Regions from separate parts of the Homo sapiens genome. Here all the other regions are linked to region 4. Evidence: promoter capture Hi-C in 16 types of primary human blood cells and fetal thymus (Javierre and others, 2016). All regions are on one chromosome and are shown on one strand. The core of a region is centred on a gene start or on the middle of the fragment in contact, and the rest is flanking DNA. Distances in the headings are between cores, read along the strand shown.

The links. The method cuts DNA at HindIII sites, captures the fragments that hold promoters and counts their contacts. A CHiCAGO score of 5 or more calls a contact.
Region 1: a fragment that was not itself captured here is called in contact with the fragment with the promoter of SPIRE1 in region 4 in 12 of 17 cell types (M1 macrophages, M2 macrophages, M0 macrophages and 9 more); the score reaches 12.5 in M1 macrophages.
Region 2: a contact is called between a fragment that was not itself captured here and the fragment with the promoter of SPIRE1 in region 4, in 1 of 17 cell types (monocytes). The highest score is 5.7, in monocytes.
Region 3: a fragment that was not itself captured here is called in contact with the fragment with the promoter of SPIRE1 in region 4 in 1 of 17 cell types (M0 macrophages); the score reaches 6.0 in M0 macrophages.
Region 5: a contact is called between a fragment that was not itself captured here and the fragment with the promoter of SPIRE1 in region 4, in 1 of 17 cell types (erythroblasts). The highest score is 6.0, in erythroblasts.
Region 6: a fragment that was not itself captured here is called in contact with the fragment with the promoter of SPIRE1 in region 4 in 12 of 17 cell types (monocytes, erythroblasts, megakaryocytes and 9 more); the score reaches 13.7 in monocytes.
Region 7: a contact is called between a fragment that was not itself captured here and the fragment with the promoter of SPIRE1 in region 4, in 4 of 17 cell types (M2 macrophages, erythroblasts, M0 macrophages and 1 more). The highest score is 6.4, in M2 macrophages.

Annotation. Positions count from the first base shown.
Region 1 is chr18:12,364,641-12,367,340 of GRCh38, reverse strand. It overlaps AFG3L2 (AFG3 like matrix AAA peptidase subunit 2), which reads left to right. Exons shown (of 17, transcript NM_006796.3): 4 at 1-65; 5 at 224-376. Among named protein-coding and RNA genes, the nearest start is that of AFG3L2, 11 kb to the left of the region's middle. The HindIII fragment of the contact is 2,906 bases long and covers 1-2,700 here.
Region 2 is chr18:12,305,126-12,307,857 of GRCh38, reverse strand. It overlaps a transcript of TUBB6 not described here. Among named protein-coding and RNA genes, the nearest start is that of TUBB6, 1.7 kb to the left of the region's middle. RefSeq lists a silencer at 1-131. The HindIII fragment of the contact is 285 bases long and covers 1,184-1,468 here.
Region 3 is chr18:12,924,515-12,927,336 of GRCh38, reverse strand. No RefSeq gene overlaps it. Among named protein-coding and RNA genes, the nearest start is that of SEH1L, 22 kb to the left of the region's middle. The HindIII fragment of the contact is 1,826 bases long and covers 573-2,398 here.
Region 4 is chr18:12,656,825-12,659,524 of GRCh38, reverse strand. It overlaps SPIRE1 (spire type actin nucleation factor 1), which reads left to right and starts at 1,418. Exons shown (of 17, transcript NM_001128626.2): 1 at 1,418-1,995. The coding sequence starts at 1,659. It also overlaps a transcript of PSMG2 not described here. RefSeq lists silencers at 959-1,108, 1,159-1,228, 1,231-1,399, 1,269-1,688, 1,879-1,998. The HindIII fragment of the contact is 7,532 bases long and covers 1-2,700 here.
Region 5 is chr18:12,286,201-12,288,900 of GRCh38, reverse strand. No RefSeq gene overlaps it. Among named protein-coding and RNA genes, the nearest start is that of TUBB6, 21 kb to the left of the region's middle. RefSeq lists enhancers at 1-877, 878-1,873. The HindIII fragment of the contact is 2,754 bases long and covers 70-2,700 here.
Region 6 is chr18:12,325,389-12,328,088 of GRCh38, reverse strand. It overlaps TUBB6 (tubulin beta 6 class V), which reads right to left. Exons shown (of 4, transcript NM_032525.3): 4 at 1,473-2,700. The coding sequence ends at 1,959. Among named protein-coding and RNA genes, the nearest start is that of TUBB6, 18 kb to the right of the region's middle. RefSeq lists a silencer at 1-139 and an enhancer at 1-523. The HindIII fragment of the contact is 1,244 bases long and covers 752-1,995 here.
Region 7 is chr18:12,342,354-12,345,138 of GRCh38, reverse strand. It overlaps AFG3L2 (AFG3 like matrix AAA peptidase subunit 2), which reads left to right. Exons shown (of 17, transcript NM_006796.3): 14 at 892-1,007. LOC107985154 (a long non-coding RNA gene) reads right to left here. Exons shown (of 2, transcript XR_002958227.2): 2 at 816-1,090. Among named protein-coding and RNA genes, the nearest start is that of AFG3L2, 33 kb to the left of the region's middle. The HindIII fragment of the contact is 9,965 bases long and covers 1-2,785 here.

The DNA of each region.
Region 1 (2,700 bases), core at 3-2,502, 290 kb after region 4:
GTGGTGGCGGTGGAAAACGAGGTGGCAAGAAAGATGATTCTCACTGGTGGTCCAGGTTTCAGAAGGTTTGATGCTATACATTGTGTGAATTTTGAGGTTATGATGGTGGCCCAGAGAAGGTTGGGAGGCATTAGTGTAGTGTTGGAGGGATTTGTGTCTCACAGAGCATAGATCGTATTGTGGAATTTCATTCTTCACAGAAGCTGTCTCCCTCTCTGCCCAGGGTGACATTCCATGGGACGACAAGGATTTCAGGATGTTCTTCCTCTGGACTGCTCTGTTCTGGGGTGGAGTCATGTTTTACTTGCTGCTCAAGAGATCCGGGAGAGAAATCACTTGGAAGGACTTTGTCAATAACTATCTTTCAAAAGGAGTAGTAAGTATTTTATGGGATTGGTGGCTGTTGTGGTTCAAAGGTGAAATTCATCAGATTAGACCAAAGAAGTGACAGTCAGCAGGTTAACCTGGCTCGTCCATTGTAAAATTGTTATTTTCACTCAGATTTTTCTAATGCTGAGAAGTACTGCAACTAGAGAACCCGTGTTTTGACCTGGTGTCCTCAAATTTACCCACAAATTCTTTTATTTCACTACCTCCCAGAACTGGGTTTTGGAACCACTGCTTCTGACCATGGTCTTGGCAGTCCTCTGCTTGCGCCCTTTTCTCACGTGCCCTCAGCTGCCCCTGCTCTGTGCTGTCGTGTGCCAGCCTCTGCCCCTGCTCTGTGCTATCATGTGCCAGCGTCTGCCCCTGCTTTGTGCTGTTGTGTGCCAGCCTCTTTGGGCCCTCTGTGGGTCTTTACTACATTTAGTCACCTGTGGGCGTGGCAGCTAATCAGCGTGTGTTGTCAGAGCAGATGGGGCTCTAAGGGAGGGCCAAGTGGGTGCGTGGTCCCTGCCATTTCTCTGTCTGCGGAGCAGCCTTTGTTACTGTCTGCTGGGCTTGCCCATGTGTGACTATATTCACCACAACCAATGGGAAATAAGTAAGACCATATTTCAGCATATTTAAGATGCTATTGATTGTAAGACACATGGTATTTTATAAGTTGCTAAGACAAATCTAATAAGATGCTGATGAAATTATGACATGCCATCAATTGTAAAATGGATCTCCATTTCTGATGTTAAAATATGAAAAATGTGTGTCTTAGAATTGATGCAGTGGCCGGGCGTAGTGGGTCACGCCTGTAATCCCAGCACTTTGGGAGGCCGAGGCGGGTGAATCACGAGGTCAGGAGATTGAGACCATCCTGGCTAACATGGTGAAACCCCCGAATCTACTAAAAAATACAAAAAATTAGCCGGGTGTGGTGGCACGTGCCTGTAGTCCCAGCTATTTGGGAGTCTGAGGCAGGAGAATGGCGTGAACCCGGGAGGCGGAGCTTGCAGTGAGCCGAGATTGCACCACTGCACTCCAGCCTGGGCGACAGAGCGAGACTCCATCTCAAAAAAAAAAAAAAAAAAAAAGAATTGATGCAGTGTAGTGATAGACACCAGAATTAGGCCTGCTGTGTAGCCTTGGGGAAACCCCTTAACCTCTTAATACTTGGGTTTTCATCCATGAAATGGATAAAGTAAGACGACATGAATACTTACTGAGGTAGTGTAAAGAATTTGAATTCGTTCTGAAGGTTGTGCAGGAAGGTAAGGATGTAAGAAATGGTTATCTACTCAAATGAGCAGCTGCTACTGTGCTAAGAGCTGAAGTTGACTGAGATTAACTTCAGTTTATGTTTCCCCTGGAAGTTGGAAACCTTCAGTGGACTCCAGAATTCCAAAATGCTTACATCGGACAGATCCTGCCTGTACCATTGTCCTGTGCGTAGGGAGATGGGTTCCTGGTGCTTCCTTATGCCACCATCTTCCAGAGTCCTTTTATCTAGTTGGATTTTTGAAACATGTTTATCTTATGAAAGTGAGGATCTTATATGTGTAATTCTCAGATGTAGTGGGGACTCCCACTCAGAAGCTGCTCAGAAGCAGTGGTCATTGCGTGTGGACTGGGCTGCAGCCGTCCTTCTGATTGGGATGGCAGGTCCTCGAGGTGGCTTCTCCATAGCTGCAGCTCCTCCTGACCCTCTGGCTCTTTGGCATTAGTCTGCTGTCTCCCCAGCGGGTGTCTGTGGGGTGGAGCAGTGCCAGTCATTCCTCTCTGACAGAGACTGCCTTTAAGAACAGTTGCTCCCCGATTCCAGCCCCTCTGGGATTGCTCTGGGGCTCCTTTGCTTTTTGTTTGTCATTCTTGCCTTCCAGACTTGCTGACAAAGCAAGCAGTTAGAAATAAGCACATCCCAGAGCGCTCATGCTCCTAAACCAGTTACAGTCCTTGGGATGTGGTGTTTTAACAGTGTTACTAAGAATCCTATGTAGGCTGGCCGTGGTGGCTCACACCTGTAATCTGTGCACTTTGGGAGGCTGAGGTGGGAGGATCACTTGAATCTAGGAGTTCGAGACCAGCCTGGGGAATGTAGGGAGACCCCATCTCTACAAAGAAATGTAAAAAAATTGGCCATCTGTGGTGGCTTGCATTCTTAGTCCCAGCTACTCAGGAAGCTGAGGTGGGAGGATCTCTTGTGCCCAGAGAAGTTGAGGCTGCAGTGAGCTATGATTGTACCACTGCACTCCAGCCTGAGTGAAATCCTGTCTAAAAACAAATAAAAAAAGGATCCTATATAACTAGGTGATTCAATTTAAAAAA
Region 2 (2,732 bases), core at 77-2,576, 350 kb after region 4:
GCCGGGACACTGCCCTGGGGTTCGGCGGTGGAGCTTTTCAGGGTCTCTGCCCCCTGCCCCCCACCCCCCGGTCGCACCCCGGGCACACGTTCTTAGGGCCTCTTCGTCCTGGTGTTTCCGTCTCCGGAGATACAGAGGCCATTCCTCTCCGACGACTCCCACCCCTTTGGAACCGGGTTTAGCTAAAGTGACTACAGGGCTGGATCCGAAAATGAACACCTCCTGCGCCGGGTCTATGCAGCCTACTCCTCGCGCGTTAGCGAAGAAATGCGCTTCGGCCTGGGAGGGCGCGCCAGAGTCCGTCTTCCTGGCCAGTTTTGTGTGGTGGAAAGGAATGACTGCTGATGCCGGCCGGGTGACTTGGATTTTAATTCTAGCTGTTTTCAGTTAGCTCTGCGCTTCAGCGGACTCCTCTGTTAACGGAAAAGGTTATCCTAGGGGAGCCTTTCAGCCTCCAAAATGCGGGATGCTCTGGCCTCTGCAGTCAGAATGTGCATGCATCAGGGCTTTTGCGGAAGTTTCCTCACGTGAACGCTGCAGGCTGGGACCACCGGGGTAGCCTCTGCGTCCCCTCCCAGGCCCGTAGAAACGCCGCACATGAGGAAGCGACGATGTTCTGTAATTTGCACTGGCACTTTCTTTTTAGACAGATGAAAACTTTGGGAAATTCCTAATTGTGTGTGTGCATGTTTGTACGTTTGGAAGGGAGTGGAGAACTTTTAAAAGTTTTTCTTCTGGAGTTTTGCAAATGTTTCCAAATTGAGGAATTTTTTTTTTTAACCCTTGGGTCCCCGCCTCCCCACTGCTCTCTCCACCCCAGTGCTGCTCCTCGGCCTTCTTGTGGGTCCCCACACCTCTTTACACAGCCACACGCCCAGGGAGCAGATGAGGAGGCCACAGCCCAGCCCCTGCGCTCCCATTTCAAACTATGAGCCTGAGATTAATCAGCCACCTTCTCCTGAGTCCTCAACACCCTTATTTAGGCTGTTTGTTTCCATTGCTTAATTATTGACTCCAACGAGTGCTACCTTAACCCATCCTGCCGGCCCGAAGTCTAGTGTGGGGAGCCCGAGAGCGGAGGGCCTGTGCCATCCCTGGAAGAACCCTTCCTCCAGCTTTAGTCTCTCTCTCTAAGAAATCCAGCCATCAAGTGGTTTAAAAGAAAGTGTCTACTTTAGAAGCTTTGGTCGTTTGCTGAAATAGCCACCCTTTCAGTGCTAGCCCTTGGGCTGGAATTTAAGTCCAGGGGTCTGATCGAGCCAGAAAGTAGGTGTCAGCGTGGCTTCCGGAAGTCCGTTGTCACTTGGATTTGACAAGGGACAAGCCGACCTGCTGGTTTCTGGGCTCCTGCTCGCTGTGCGCTCTGCGCTGTCTGCAGGGATTGGTGCCCGCGGAGTGCGCTTTGTCTGGAGAAACTCAGTGCTCGAAGAGTGAGGAGACCGGGAGGAAACCTTCCCCCTGCAAAGCTTATCTCCCTTCCCTCTCATCAGAGGCGGGGCCCCGCAAGACACAAGGGATTTCCCCGCAGAATGAACCAAGGCCTCCCCAGGACATGGGGACAGTTCTGCTGTGCAAAGCCTGAATTCACGTTTCTTTCCTAAAGTGGCTCCCAGTCTCTCTGCAGCCTTGGCCTCTCTTTGAATCCCAACCCTGACTTCCCTGGTGTCTGTTGGCCACTCCCTTCTGGGAGCCGGCAGGTGAAACCCTGACCTGTGAGCCCGGCCTGGGGCTCTCCAGGCTCTGGGCCCCCTACCCTCCCGATCTGTGGCCCTCACTCCTCCTGGGCGAGGCTGTTTGTGACGCGGTGTGTCCAAATGCACACAAGCCGCAAACCAAACTTAAAAAAGCGTAGAGGACACATTCTCTTCTCCTACCTTAAAAAATACACCATGGTATCTGGAAAGCCAGGTTCCAGTTTAGAATTCTCAGGCTAGGCCGGGCACAGTGGTTCACGCCTGTAATCCCAAAACTTCCAAAGCTGACATGGCAGGATTGCTTGAGCCCAGGACCTCGAGACCAGCCTGGGCATTATAGTGAGACCCTTGTCTCTACAAAAAGTTAAAAAATTAGCCAGGCATGGTGGTACATGCCTGTACCCAGCTACTCCAGAGTCTGAGGTGGGAGGATTGATTGCTTGAACCTGGGAGGTGGAGGTTGCTGTGAGCTGTGATCATGTCACTGCACTCCAGCCAGGGTGACAGAGTGAGACCGCGTCTCAATAAAAATAAAATAAAATAAAATAAAAAAGAAATCGGTAGACTTCTTGGGCTCCTCGTTGATTTGCATCAGGGCGTGGAAGTGCGGGGGCTGGTCTCAGCCTGCAGTCCTCACTTTCAACACCCGCCTTTCTCCCCACCTCCAATTCTGTCCCACGCCGAGATGGGTCTCCAGTACATGCCTGTGGACACTTCAGTCCTCAGCCACTCACAGCCATCCCAGGCCACCCTGCGGGAAGAAGGGGCCCTAGGAGTAGGTTTGGGGAGGTCTGGGCAGGGACTCCTGAGGTCCGGGGGGCTGAGGTGCCATCTAGGAGCTGTGGGCTCATCCCAGTGGCCCTGTAGGGAGGGGGCAGGCAAGGACAAGGCCCCTCACCTGGGTCGAAGGCAGTGATGGCGTTCATGACTTGGTGCTCTGGGCGAGCCACATTACCCGTGCACTCCTGTCTGCTCACTTTCCTCCTCCTCTTGCCCGTCTCTTCTGTGCCTTAGATCACAGTCTTGCTTCTCTGAACG
Region 3 (2,822 bases), core at 236-2,735, 270 kb before region 4:
GAAATATTGGAAGAGATTATTAGGATCATCTCCATTTTGCAGATAAAGAAGCTGAGGCTCAGAGGTCACGTGGTTAGTAAGGCTCAGAGCTGGCACAAGGAACCAGATCTTCCAACTCCAAGTCCAGCACCTTTGCACACCACACCAGGGCTTCTCAAACTGCAGCTCACTTCTACAGCTCACCTGGGGGTCTTGTTAAAATGCAGATTCTCACACATAGGTCTTGGATGGGACCAAGTGCTTCTTTTTCTGATAAGCTTCAGGTAGTGCTGATACTGATCCATGGATCGTATTTTGAGTGGCCAGGCACTACACCACGCTCCATTTTAATCAATCAACTAGCCGTAGGCCTCATTATTCAATAGTTGCCATTATACACAGCTGACTGCTGAACAAAAATCACCTCCAGGTTGCCTTTCAGCTAGGTATCACCTTCCAAGGGTAAGTCCCACTGATGAGCCAAACTGCAGCTTTGTTTTCCTTAGATGTGCTCCCCTTTTCCTAGGAATGTCTAGGGGAGACAGAGCCAAAGACTGCATCCAGGTGAACAAAGGTCCTTTCACCAGGAAGCTTCCTACCCTAATGTTCTTCAAGGGAGGTGACTGGAGAAATGGTTGTGAGTCAGCCTTTTCCTCACGGGAGTTCTGTCTTGGAAGAAAGATAAATAATATAGAAAATGTGGCTTATAACCTGGGAGCCAAGTGCTTTTGTGGACGGTCAATTACCACTCTTGTTCTGGAATCTGTCTGCAAATGTGTATGTGTGCTGCTGCCACAATAGACAGCGATTCACAAAACACAAACAGTGAAATGGCATAAGGTTTCTCTAACGGCGGCGGACACAGAAACATGTCCACCCCGAGAAGGCTACACAGGGGAGGAAGAAGTGTGGCATTTCTAGCTGGACATGCAGGTCCCTGGGTTCCCCAAATCCTCCCAGGCATATGCAGCTGCCAATCTCCCTGCCAGAAGAGCATATTGTCAGGCATATGAACACACCCTTTGGCACTCTGAGGGGCTTTACCCTGTCTTGTGCACTCCTGCCTGTTCTGAGGACCATGCCCCAGGAGCAAACATGCAAAACAGCAGACCCTTTAACTGCCCACTGCCTGTGAGATGAGTTGGACCATTCCAAGCTGTTGGGCGAGAGCCAGAGCAGATCATCTGAGTCCCTGCAGACCTGGCCCAACTGCATGTATCCCAGCAGCGGGGTGTGTGTCTATCTCCTTTTTCTTTTCTTTTTTCTTTTTAAGACAGAGTCTCCCTCTGTTGCCCAGGCTGGAGTGCAGTGGCATGATCTTGGCTCATTGGAGCCTCTGCCTCCCAGGTTCAAGCAATTCTCCCACCTTAGTCTCCCAAATAGCTGGGATTACAGGCGTGCACCACCAGGACTAGCTAATTTTTGTATTTTTAGTAGAGACGGGGTTTCTCCATGTTGGTCAGGCTGGTCTTGAACTCCTGACCTCAAGTGATCCGTCCCCCCCTCAGCCTCCCAAAGTGATGGGATTACAGGCATGAGCCACTGCGCCCAGCCTGTCTCTACTTTTTTTTTTTTTGAAACAGAGTCTTGCTCTGTCGTCCAGGCTGGAGTGCAATGGCACAATCTTGGCTGACTGCAAGCTCCGCCTCCCAGGTTCACGCCATTCTCCTGCCTCAGTCTCCCGAGTAGCTGGGACTACAGGTGCCTGCCACCACGCCTGGCTAATTTTTTTGTATTTTTTTCAGTAGAGACCGGGTTTCACCGTGTTAGCCAGGATGGTCTCCATCTCCTGACCTCGTGATCTGCCTGCCTTGGCTTCCCAAAGTGCTGGGATTACAGGCCTGAGCCACCGCGCCCGGCCCAGCCTGTCTCTTTTTAATTCTAATTTCTTTGGCACTTCTCTCTCTCTCCTACCTTCCTCCTTTGAGGCTCATCCTCCCCTGTCATTTGTCCAGACCAGAATGCTGCTCCCGCATGTCTTGCCCTAGGCCATGTCTCCTGACACATTTGGCTACTCTTTGGTATCTAGAAACACTCTCAAGGGGCTGGGGTGGATGGAGAGCTGAGGAGGCAGGTTAGGGCTTAGGGGTCTGAACAGGGCTGACCATTAGCTGGGAAGTCCCGGTTCAGCTTACTGGTGGGCATCTCTTCTGATTCATCAGTGCCCTCACTGTCCTGGCCCTTACATATTTTGAATATCTCCTCTAGGTTTGGGGACACAGAAGAAGGGCAAGCAGTTCCTGTGCTGAACTAGGAAGAGCCATGCTGAGCACAGGATTTGCAGGCAGCACTGTGTCCTCAGACCCTCCCGTAGCAGGGTGCCCTGTCTCCCCCGTGCCTCCACAACTATGTCTATGCTGCATGGAAAAGGGCACCTTCAGCTCCTGAGTGCAACAGAGAGATGGGAACAAACCAAGCTTAGCACAAGAAGGGCCAGGGCAGCTAAACTTAGCTAATTGAACGTTCAAGTTTTGGGAGAAAGATTGTGGAATCTGGGCTTCTTTCCCTTTGGCCCGTCTTTAGAACAGGAGGATGCTCTTTATTCAGTCCCCCGAGGTTTTCCTGCATCGAGCTCTTGAATTCAACAAGAATAGCACTAGGCCGTAGAGAATAATTTGCCAGGCAATTATTAAGTGTTTTCCGAAAGTGATGTTGCTTTGCAAAATGTTTTAAAATAAATTGAATGTGCATTTCCACTTAGAGATGAAGAGAAGCATATCACTTGGCTTCATTTAATAATGATTTAGATGATGGTAAGAAGAGCAAGTAAATTCAAATTAGATTATTGATTTTCATGATTATAAATTAGAATCCAACAAAAATAAATGACAGATATTTTTCTA
Region 4 (2,700 bases), core at 169-2,668:
CTAATTTTCTTTGTATTTTTAGTAGAGACAGGGTTTCCCCATGTTGGCCAGGCTGGTCTCGAACTCCTGACCTCAGTGATCTGCCCGCCTCAGCCTCCCAAAGTGCTGGGATTACAGGCCTAAGCCACTGCGCACGGCCCTCTTTCAATTTCTTAATTTTCCTTTTCGTCCTGTTGCTTTTCTCCCTCCTCCCCATTCCCAGCTGTATGTAAGATGGTATCTCATTTTAATAGACTGTTGTTATTTAAATAGACTGTTGTAGTTTCTACCGCAAGATGCAATTGTTGAGAGCGTGATTTCTAACATTTTACATAAAACTGCCGTAAAAGGTTTACTGGAACTTAATATACATTGCCTATTTGGTTGATGCTTTCAACACTCTGTAGGGCTTTCACACAGGACTAGCCTCAGTGGAATTTTATCGATTAAATTAATCTACCAATGGGTGATTAAGAATTATCTGTTTTATTGCATATTTAATAGGTTGGGGGGGCGGAATTCTTTCTTTCTACGGCTAATTGCCCTCAGTTCAATTTTACCACTGTGATATTCATTCCACATGCTCTGATGAGTGTGGTACTTGAGACATTACCTTAGTGAGGGAAGGGACCAATGTTACAAATGAATCCGGAAGGACGCTAAAACTAACACCTGCAAATTATGTACATGTTTATATTCCAGGCGCTGGTTTAGCTTTTGGGAGAAGTCAGTGAGGAAAACCCGTAAAGATCCCCGTCTTTACGGTGCTTACCCTGAAGATGGGAGTGGAGAGGGAGGTATTCAACCAGCAAGAAATCGGAAAACGCGCAGAGCGGCCGCGGGGTCACGGGAAACTGCCGGAGGCTTTCAGGGCCCAGGGCCCGGCGGGGAGGCTTCAGCGGGCCTGCATTTTCTTAGGCATCCGCTCCAGGCGGGTTCAAGTTTTCAACCAGACCTTCGGCGATCCAGCGCCTAGGGAACGTCAATGCGGGTGACTTCTCCCGCTGTGCAGGGCGGTGACCCGGGTTGGCGCGCCCAGTTCCCCGCCAGAGTCGGCCGGGGACTTCCCTGATAAATGCGACACCCTCTTGCCCCTGCGCCCCCCGACCGCGCGCCCGGCCCCGCGTGTCCCCCACGCCCCACAACCCTGCACGCCCTACCCGGCCGCGCATCCCCTCCGGACCGTGCGTCGCCGCCCTCACCATTGCGCCCCCAGCTGTGTGTCCCTTGCGACCGGGCCCCCCGACCGGGCGTCACCGCCTGCGACTCTGAGAGCCCTGCGGGCTAGAGACCGTGCGGCCATCTCGCCTCGAGGCGAGGCCCTCCTGCCTGGTCCTCACCTCCAGAGCGTGCATCCCCCGGCCCGTGCGGCCCCCTAAGGGGCGGGCGCTGGGCGGCGCTGGACGGCGCGAGGCGGGGCGGGGCGGGGCGGGGCGCCGGACGCCATCGCGTCGCTACCGGCCGGCGGCTGTCTGACCGGGACTGCAGCCGTGTCCTCGCCGCCCTCCTCTTGCCCACGCCTCCCGGGCACTCGCCTGGTCCCGGCGGCGGCGCGCGCGGCCGCGTTGGGCGGCGGCGGTTCCGGGGATGGTGAGGCGGCGGCGCGCGACGACGATGCTCCGGAGCTGAGGAGACGCCGGCACACGGCGCGACTGCCGAGCGCAGCGCCCACCCGCGGGATGGCTCAGGCGGCTGGCCCGGCGGGCGGCGGGGAGCCGCGGACTGAGGCAGTGGGCGGCGAGGGGCCGCGGGAGCCCGGGGCAGCCGGCGGCGCGGCCGGGGGCTCCCGGGACGCGCTGAGCCTGGAGGAGATCCTGCGGCTGTACAACCAGCCCATCAACGAGGAGCAGGCGTGGGCCGTGTGCTACCAGTGCTGCGGTTCCCTGCGCGCCGCCGCCCGCCGCCGCCAGCCCCGCCACCGTGTGCGCTCGGCCGCGCAGATCCGCGTCTGGAGGGACGGCGCCGTCACCCTGGCGCCCGCGGCCGACGACGCGGGAGAGCCGCCCCCAGTTGCGGGTGAGGCCGCCGGGCCCCTTTCCCTCGTAGTTCTTGGAACACCCGCGGCTGGGCCGCCTTACCCTCAGCGTCCCCGGCCCTTCCGCCCCCGCCGTCCCCCCCCATTTTGCCACGGGAGACCCCCGGGAGGATCCGGCGGGGACCCGCAGGGGAGGACGGCGTCAGGCCGTGGCTGGCCGGGGCCCCTCGGAGGTCAGAGCCTCGTGGCGGGCGACGGCGCAAATCCGCTGTGCGGAGGACGTTTGGGTGGGCCTGGGCCTGCGGGCCGCGGGGCGCTCGTCATTGTGCTGCCCGCGGGACAGCTGCCCGCGGCGCGTTTGGGAGCGGTGGGCTGGGCCCTGCTCCGGGCCAGCGGCCTGTGCGCCTCACGCCGTGGCTGCTGACACACGGCCGGGTTCACGGGGTGGGGAGGGCATCGCAGGCTTCACGCGGGGGCTCCGCACGGATCCTCAGTGCCGCTGTCGGAAACACCGCACTCCTCACGGGAAACTAGCAGTATTCCACATTAGACAGCCTTTCCTCGGTTCGGAAATGTAAAGATGATTCTGAACCGTGAGAATTCTGCTCTTTGGGGAGAAATGGAAAAATAGACTAAATAGTGATTTTTGGCTCCTGGACGTTAGAAAATACTGATTGCATTCCTGTATGTGAAAATTTGTTGTGATGAAAAACAGGCTTGTAAAGTGAAAAGTTGACAGGATGTCG
Region 5 (2,700 bases), core at 197-2,696, 370 kb after region 4:
TGTGTTACTTTCTATGCCAATGCCCTAAGCGAGTGATTGTGAATGGAGAGACTAGGACGGCAGAAAGCTTGCCTTGCAGGAGGCACCCAGAATATTATGAGAGGAGGACCCAGAATATTATGACTGGAATAAGGAAAAATTGAATAATGCACGCCTTAGCAAAGTGGCTCTCTCTAGGCTTTTCTCAGAGTTTAACATATTATAAATTAGAATGGCATTAAAAAATAGAATCAGAATGGTTTGCACCTGATTATGATCGGCCAGGTGTTTGCCTGGATTCCATTCCTAGTCAGTCCCCGCCGGTCTAGTTAGGAACCGAGCTTTGTAGCGAGTCCTAGGCTTGGTCTTGCGTGCTCCTTGGAAGGAAGGGTGGTGGTGGGCAGGGAGGTGGATGGCTGGGTCCCCCGGGCCTTTCTCTTGGACAAGGCTGCAGCTCGTCCTCTCTCAGGCTCCAGGGCGGGGAGGGCACCTTCTTTAGCTAACAGCCTTGCTGGGAAAGTTACTGTGATCATGTAGGTAAAAACGCATTGTCAACCGCAAACTTCCAGACGAAAGTCCTGTGAAATTCTTATCGTCTGTTCTGGACAGTGGCGCGAGGGCTATTTGGAGAGTTGAACTCAGTGTGAGCCCAGCACGCCCCGCCCCAGCTGTCTCAGCTGCACCCAGGAATCCTGCGGTGGCCACTCCCCGCTCCAGCTGGCCCCGTGATGCAGAAAACATTTTTCCCCACCCATCCCAGCAACGCTCACCCTTCCTTACTAAGTCACATTTGTGCCTGACTCCCAAGAATACGCTTCACGCCCACGCATGGAATCAAGGGGGAAACCAGCAGATCCGCGCTGTGTCCCTTGCCTGGCCCGGGCACCTCTCGCGACCGCAGTCCTGTCCAGGGCGGACATCGTTCACGTTCTTACAGATGAGGGTGCCGAGTCTGGGAGAGGCCAAGAGACGTGCCCGGGCGCACATTTGGCCCCCAGCTGCTTACAGTAGAAACGGGGCCCCGGAGCTCCGCTGGGTATCTGCTCGGCAGGGCGCCCCCGCCTGCAGCTGCAGCGGACTCGGTCAGAACCTGATTCAACGGGAGGAACCACGTTGTCCAAAGCTCATTCCTGGGAGGGGAGTTCTGCCCAGGCAGACAGGGGGTCACCAGGCTTTCCTTGTCGGATGAGATTTTTCTCCCTGGGCGACCCCCACCATCCTCGCCTCCTCACCTGGCCTCTGCTGGGAGGAGCGGCTGGGTCGGCAGCTTGGGCTGGCCACTGCCTTTACCTGAGCGCCTGCGCCTGGGTCAGCCTGGCAGGCAGCAGCAGGCCAAGGAATGCCCCTGCAGGGAGGTGCGACCGGACAGCTGACGCCCGCCCTGCCTGTGCCGGCTGTTCCGAGGACGCCGGAATGTGGAGTGGGGACCCCGAGAGGGAGTACGCCTCTGCACCATCACTCGGGGGAGCGTGGGGAGCCCGCGTCCTTCACCTCCAGGGCAGGCGGAGGTCTGGGCGCAGGGCGGGCGGGAGCACGGTGCATAGCCTGACACCGCTCATTCGGGCTGAGCTGGCGCAGCTCACCTGGCTGCCAGCACCGACGCCGCATGAGCGCTCTGCGGCCACCTGCATCCAAAGAAAGCCTCGACGGCTTGCCATAGGGAAGCCCTGCGGGTCTTGAGCTCACCTTGAGGAAGCCCTGAGCAGTCAGGAGGCCGTGCCCTCCGGAAACCCTGGCAGCCCTGGTCGTCCAAGTGACAGTCTCCAGAGCTGTGGTTAAAGGAAGGGCTTGGCCGGGATCATGCCTGTCATCTAGCACTTTGGGAGGCCGAGGTAGGAGGATTACTTGAGGCCAGGAGTTCAAGACCAGCTGAGGCCAGGAGTTCAAGACCAGCCTGGGCATCACAGTGAGATCCCCATCTCTGAAATATATACATTTAAAAGAAGAGCTTCATTCACAGTTCCCTGGGAGGGAGGAAGCATTTAAAAAAAATCAATCAATTGGCCGGGCGCGGTTGCTCCTGCCTGTAATCCCAGCACTTCAGGAGGCCGAGGTGGGTGAATCACCTGAAGTCAGGAGTTTGAGATCAGCCTGGCCAACATGGTGAAACCCCATCTCTACTAAAAATACAAAAATTAACCAGGCCTGGTGGCAGGTGCCTGTAATCCCAGCTACTTGGGAGGCTGAGGCATGAGAATCGCTTGAACCCGGGAGGCGGAGGTTGCAGTGAGCCGAGATCACGCCCCTGTACTCCATACCACTGCACTCCAGCCTGGGGGATAGAGCGAGACTCTGTCTCAAAAAAAAAAAAAAAAGAAAAGAAAAGAAATCAATCAATAAAACCCTTTTCATTATAGAACATTAAAAACATACCCAAATCAGAGACTAATGAAAGCCCATGTATCCATCACCCAACTTCATCTGAAACAGATCTTAACAACTGTGCCTGTTTCTTAAAGAAAAGAAACAAAAAGGTGTATTAGTATCTGAGTTATAGTAAATGTTTTCATTCACTCTTTTCAGGAAAAAATGGGCAAATAAATGGTCAAACCTTTTGAAGATACTGTATTGAACTACTCTTAGCCCTTTCTTTCTCCTTAGTGTGAAAATTAAAGGGTGTACTTCCCAAGCATCTGTGCTTGCTATATGCCCAGCCCCATCCAGGCTCCAAGCTCTTTATTTTTATTTTTATTTAGAGATGGGGGTTTTGCTATGTTGCCT
Region 6 (2,700 bases), core at 124-2,623, 330 kb after region 4:
CTGCTGGACCTTTGCACCTGCAGGCATTGCCACACTGGCCACTTCCTTTCCTCATAGGGTGTTTTTGGGAGGTGCCCAATGAAGCATTGTTTCCAGGCTGAGGCTCACACAGTTGTGAGGGTGCTGGGTGTGCTTTTTACCATACAGGCAGTAGACGATTAGGAGACGCTCTCTACTCCTTATCCAACCACTGCAAGGCATGGAGCCAGCGTGGGCTGCCCTCTCACAGGCCTTGGCTGTGAGACCTCCCGGGGGACGAGAGTGGGGCCCACTGTCTGTCAGGCTTGATACAGTAAGAGTGACAAAGCCAGATAGCACCGACAACACCCATGTTTCTGGTGAGGTGAGCAACCTTAAGCTCTGGGCCCTGGATGGCTGCTCAACCTGTGCAAGTGGCCCTCTGTGCTAGGAGCAACCGTGGCTCCCTGTGCCACCATCTTGTGGGGCCTGCTCATGCATAGATCTTTCCACGGTCACACAGAACATGTTTTCAGGACAGATGTGGGTGGTGAGCTGGTAAGATTTATTTTTACTGTGGTCTCAGAATAGTTCAGATTTCTGCAAAAAGATCTGTGATCACCTCAAGCCATGCTGCTGTGTTTAGTGATGAACTTTCCATCTGCCCAAGGCTGGGGCTTAACACAAAATAAATACAGCTAGTCAATGTAAGGCCTGGGATCACAGACCAAGGGTGGTGTTGTGGTTGTACTGTGGGGAACCCTAACCCTAAGTGGTCCCGAATGACAAAGCTTTGTCTGTCTCTTATTCCCTGTCCAACACAGGTCAGAGTGGGCTCTGCCCAGGATGGTCACTCAGGAACCTGGACGGGTGGACAGGAGGGATCGGGGGGGCTGCCCACGTGGGAGGCAGAGCAGGAGGGCTGGCACTGGCACATGACGCTTCCACTCGGGGGTGACACACTATGCCCATTCTTATGGCTAGAGCAAGTCCCACGTTCACAGCTTCAAGAGGGCAGGAAGAAGTAAAGCAAAAATATTGTCAACAGTGAGGTCTGTACCAGGCACTAGCAGGGCTACTGTGCGTGCCCCGTGGAGTTTATCTTTGGAAACTCCAAAGGTGTGGCCGGTGGTAGAAGCCATCAGGTGTGATGGGTCACAGCAGAAAAGGGCCCATCCCTTCCATGCAGGGCTGGCTGTTGGCACCCCAGCTCCCACCCAGCACCCCTGGCTTTGTCCGGAGGCCTTTTGGGGCTGTTTGTTCCCCTACAAGGTTGGGGAACCCTAGCCCAGGACCTGACTTGGGAAAATGCAAGATCCTGTGGGAGTCTAAAAGGTGGCTGCGGATGGAGGAGGGGCTTTTGTCTGTACTGCATTGCCTTCCAGCTAGCAACAGTTTTGGCTGCCCCCCTTAAAGCCTCCATTTAAAGAAGAGCCCTTTCCTCTGTTGTTTTCGTGAACTGAAGTGGGGAGGAGTTCACCCCAGGGAGAGACCAGTGACCCAAGTAGCCATTGTAACCATACAAAGTAACTTACGTCATTTATGCACATGGCTAGAGAGATGAAGACACACGTTTAGTATTTTATTATGAATCATTATTTCAAAGTCCCATACTGCATATTCATATAAGGCAACACGGCACAATTTCAGGCTTCATCACAAAGGATGAAAAAGACTGTTTCTAACTCCCTCCTAATTTGCAGACATGCTTGAACACTTAATGGAAGGTGAAGTTTATTTTGTGGCCCCTCAGTTCTCTTTCAAGTCCTCTAGTAGAAAGTCTCCATGGTGTGATCTTCTGACTGGGTAGAACCCGCAATTCTCTGCTGTTTTTAGTCTTTGTTCCAGATGACTAATTACATGACTTGGCTGCATTTGTGAGGGGCCGACACCAACACAATTAAACCAGTGCACCATTCAGGGCCATAGGGTAGGAGGCACCAGGGTTCAAGAAGGAACTTGCGTGTTGTAGGATCTGAGTTGGGGCGGCTCTATTCCGACTATCCATCGATCTCCTCTTCCTCATCCTCAAAAGCTTCCTCCCCGTCATTGGCGGTGGCATCCTGGTACTGCTGGTACTCGGATACCAGGTCGTTCATGTTGCTCTCCGCCTCGGTGAACTCCATTTCATCCATGCCCTCACCCGTGAACCAGTGCAGGAAGGCCTTGCGCCGGAACATGGCTGAGAACTGCTCGGAGATGCGCTTGAACAGCTCCTGGATGGCCGTGCTGTTGCCGATGAAGGTGGAGGCCATCTTCAGGCCGCGGGGCGGGATGTCGCACACGGCCACCTTCACGTTGTTGGGAATCCACTCCACGAAGTAGCTGCTGTTCTTACTCTGGATGGCCAGCATCTGCTCGTCCACCTCCTTCATGGACATGGGCCCGCGGAACACGGTGGCCACGGTCAGGTAGCGGCCATGGCGCGGATCGCAGGCGGCCATCATGTTCCTGGCGTCGAACATCTGCTGGGTGAGCTCGGGCACGGTCAGGGCCCGGTACTGCTGGCTGCCGCGGCTGGTGAGCGGCGCGAAGCCAGGCATGAAGAAGTGCAGGCGCGGGAAGGGCACCATGTTCACCGCCAGCTTGCGCAGGTCAGCATTGAGCTGGCCCGGGAAGCGCAGCGAGGTGGTGACCCCACTCATGGTGGCGGACACCAGGTGGTTGAGGTCCCCGTAGGTGGGCGTTGTCAGCTTCAGAGTGCGGAAGCAGATGTCATAGAGCGCCTCGTTGTCGATGCAG
Region 7 (2,785 bases), core at 31-2,530, 310 kb after region 4:
TAGGTGAGGGTGCGCCAGCATCAGCCTGGCTGGCTCCACCTAGGTAGCTCCGGGTGTTGAACTGGCTGCCTGCTTTCTCAGACTCTCTTCTGCCTTCCAGCAGAACAGACAGCAGGTAGTGTCTTATGGCAGCCATCTTCGCGTGCCCAGTATTTGATAATTCTGAATACCTAGACTATGCAATGAGGACCTTTCCAGAGTTTTGGTTTCTGTAATTTTGCGTGTTTTAAAATGACCTTAATGCTGAATTTTATTTTACATTTCTATTTGTTTCCCAAAACACAGGGTGTGTGGCTTAAAAGTGAGAGAGTTAGGGTGAAAGCAGGCCTGGGGATGGGGGAGTGAGTGCATTTTTGCTGTAGTTGTATTTTGAACCTGACCTTTTGCTTTTATTCTGACCTTGATTGGGAATTCTATTTAATTTTTTAAAAAAATTTTTAACTTAATTTAATTTTTTTTTTTTTTGAGACGGATTCTTACTCTGTAGCCCAGGCTGGAGTGCAGCGGCATGATCTCAGTTCACTGCAACCTCCGCCTCCTGGGTTCAAGTGATTCTCCTGCCCCAGCCTCCCTAGCAGCTGGGAGTACAGGCGCTCACCACGACGCCTGGCTAATTTTGTATTTTTAGTAGAGACGGGGTTTCACCATGTTGGCCAGGCTGGTCTCGAACTCCTCACCTCAAGTGATTGGACCACCTCAGCCTCCCAAAGTGCTGGGATTACAGGCATGAGCCACTGCGCCTGGCCTTGATTAGGAATTTTTGGATTGTGATAGGCAGCTCAGTCTCCAAACCCCATTTTAGGTAAGGCAATGTATAGCACTGTATAACTGTCTTTTAATGTCAGTGTCACTGTAACAATGGCTTGGGTTTTTTTGTTGTTATTTTGTTAGGCTTAGAGAAGAAAACGCAGGTTCTGCAGCCTGAGGAGAAGAAGACTGTGGCATACCACGAAGCAGGCCATGCGGTTGCCGGCTGGTATCTGGAGCACGCAGACCCGCTTTTAAAGGTGAAGCAGGGTAGCTGCACTAGGCAGCCAGTGCATGGGTGAGCAGATGCTCGCTGCAGTCACTCAAGAAGCAAGCTACACTCCTGCAAAGGAGAAAGAAACAAGGCTTTAGCCAAAACTTCTGGTAACTTCTGGTAACCATAGTTGCACAAACCGTCCCATAGATAAATATAAAATTTGGACAGAAAATTATTTAAAGGGACCACAGAGTGTCCAAAAGCAGGCGAGAGCTGGAGAGTTTGCTCCTATAAAGCAGCAGTTGCAGTGGGTTTGAACTGGGAGCCTGTGGCTTTCTTGCCAAAGGGTTTTTCATAATCTCCACACTACAGTGGTATGAGACATAGTCTTTATTATCCTGAGGTGGTAGAGGAGATAGTCCAGGACTTAAAGAATACTGGAAATTTAACAGGAAAATCCCAGAAGCAAGAAAACTACCAAGTGGTGAGGCCCGAATCTGAGCAGGAACTGCCCAAATCTCAGGCCGACAACTAAACTACACATGCACAGTGGCAATCCCAGAGAACCTGGCAAAAGGGTAAGCAGAGACCAAAGAGAAATCTACCCCTGAAAGACGGGGGAACCATGTGAGATTTTTAAGTTTTTTGCTTTTCAACTGAGGCATTTCCCGAACTGCTGCAGCACAGATGACAGAAAGCAGCTGCCTCCCTGCCTTGCGATGGGTATCAGGGCTGCTGGGAATTGAGGCGGGCCAGGGGTGTGGGGGTCCCCTGAAGCAAGGGAACCATAGAGAAGACAACATTAGAGTGTCCATAAAACATCCTAAGGAACCCACAGAGAACCCACTAGAACTAATAAGTAAAGTTAGCAAGGTTGAAGAATTCAAGGTCAGTATACAAAGACCAATTGTATTTCTGTGTATTAGCAATAAACAATTGGAAAATGAAATTTTAAAAATTCAATTTCATTAGCAATTTCAGTAGCATCTAAAAACTCGAAATATGGAGGAATAAATTTAAGAAAATATTTGTAGGACATGCACATTGATAACAAGCCCTAAATAAAAATAGAGGTGGACTTTGCTCATGGAGTGTTACATCAGTTCTCCCAAAACTAATTGATAATTTCAGTGCAATCTCTGGTAATTATAGCAGATTTTTTTTTTTTGTGGAAATTGAGAAGCTGAATCTAAAACCGATATGGAAATACAAATGAGTAAGAGTAGCCAAAACAGTAAGTTACTCATCCCAGTATTAAGACTGTGCAGCTACAGTGATGAGAGTGTAGTGCTGGTAAGAGGACTGGCACGCAGGCCAGTGGGGTGGAATGGAGCCCGGAAAGTGAACCACAAACTTTTGGTTCACAGAGGTACCAGGATAATTCAAGGGGGAGGAATTGTCTTATCTACAGGTGGTTCTGGCAACAGAGTATTCACAGGAAAAATGGTGAACGTTAACCCTTGCATCATATGCAAAAAATTATTTGAAACAGGTCATAAGAACTAAAACCATCAAACTTCTAGGAGAAAATACAGGGAAAAATCTCTGTGGCCTTGACCATGCAAAAATTTCTTGGGACACAAAAAGCATGAGCCACAAAAGAAAACGTTGATAGGTGGGATCTCATCAAAATTTCAAACTCTCTTTCTTTGAAAGACAGTTAAGAAAATAAAAAGGCAAGCCACGCCCTCCAAAAATACATGCAGTACATATACAGGACAAAGGACTTATTTCTAGAACCTGTAAAGAACTCTTAGAACTCAATAATAAGAAAACAACCCAGTAAAACAATGGGCGAAAGATTTAAACATGCATTTCCCA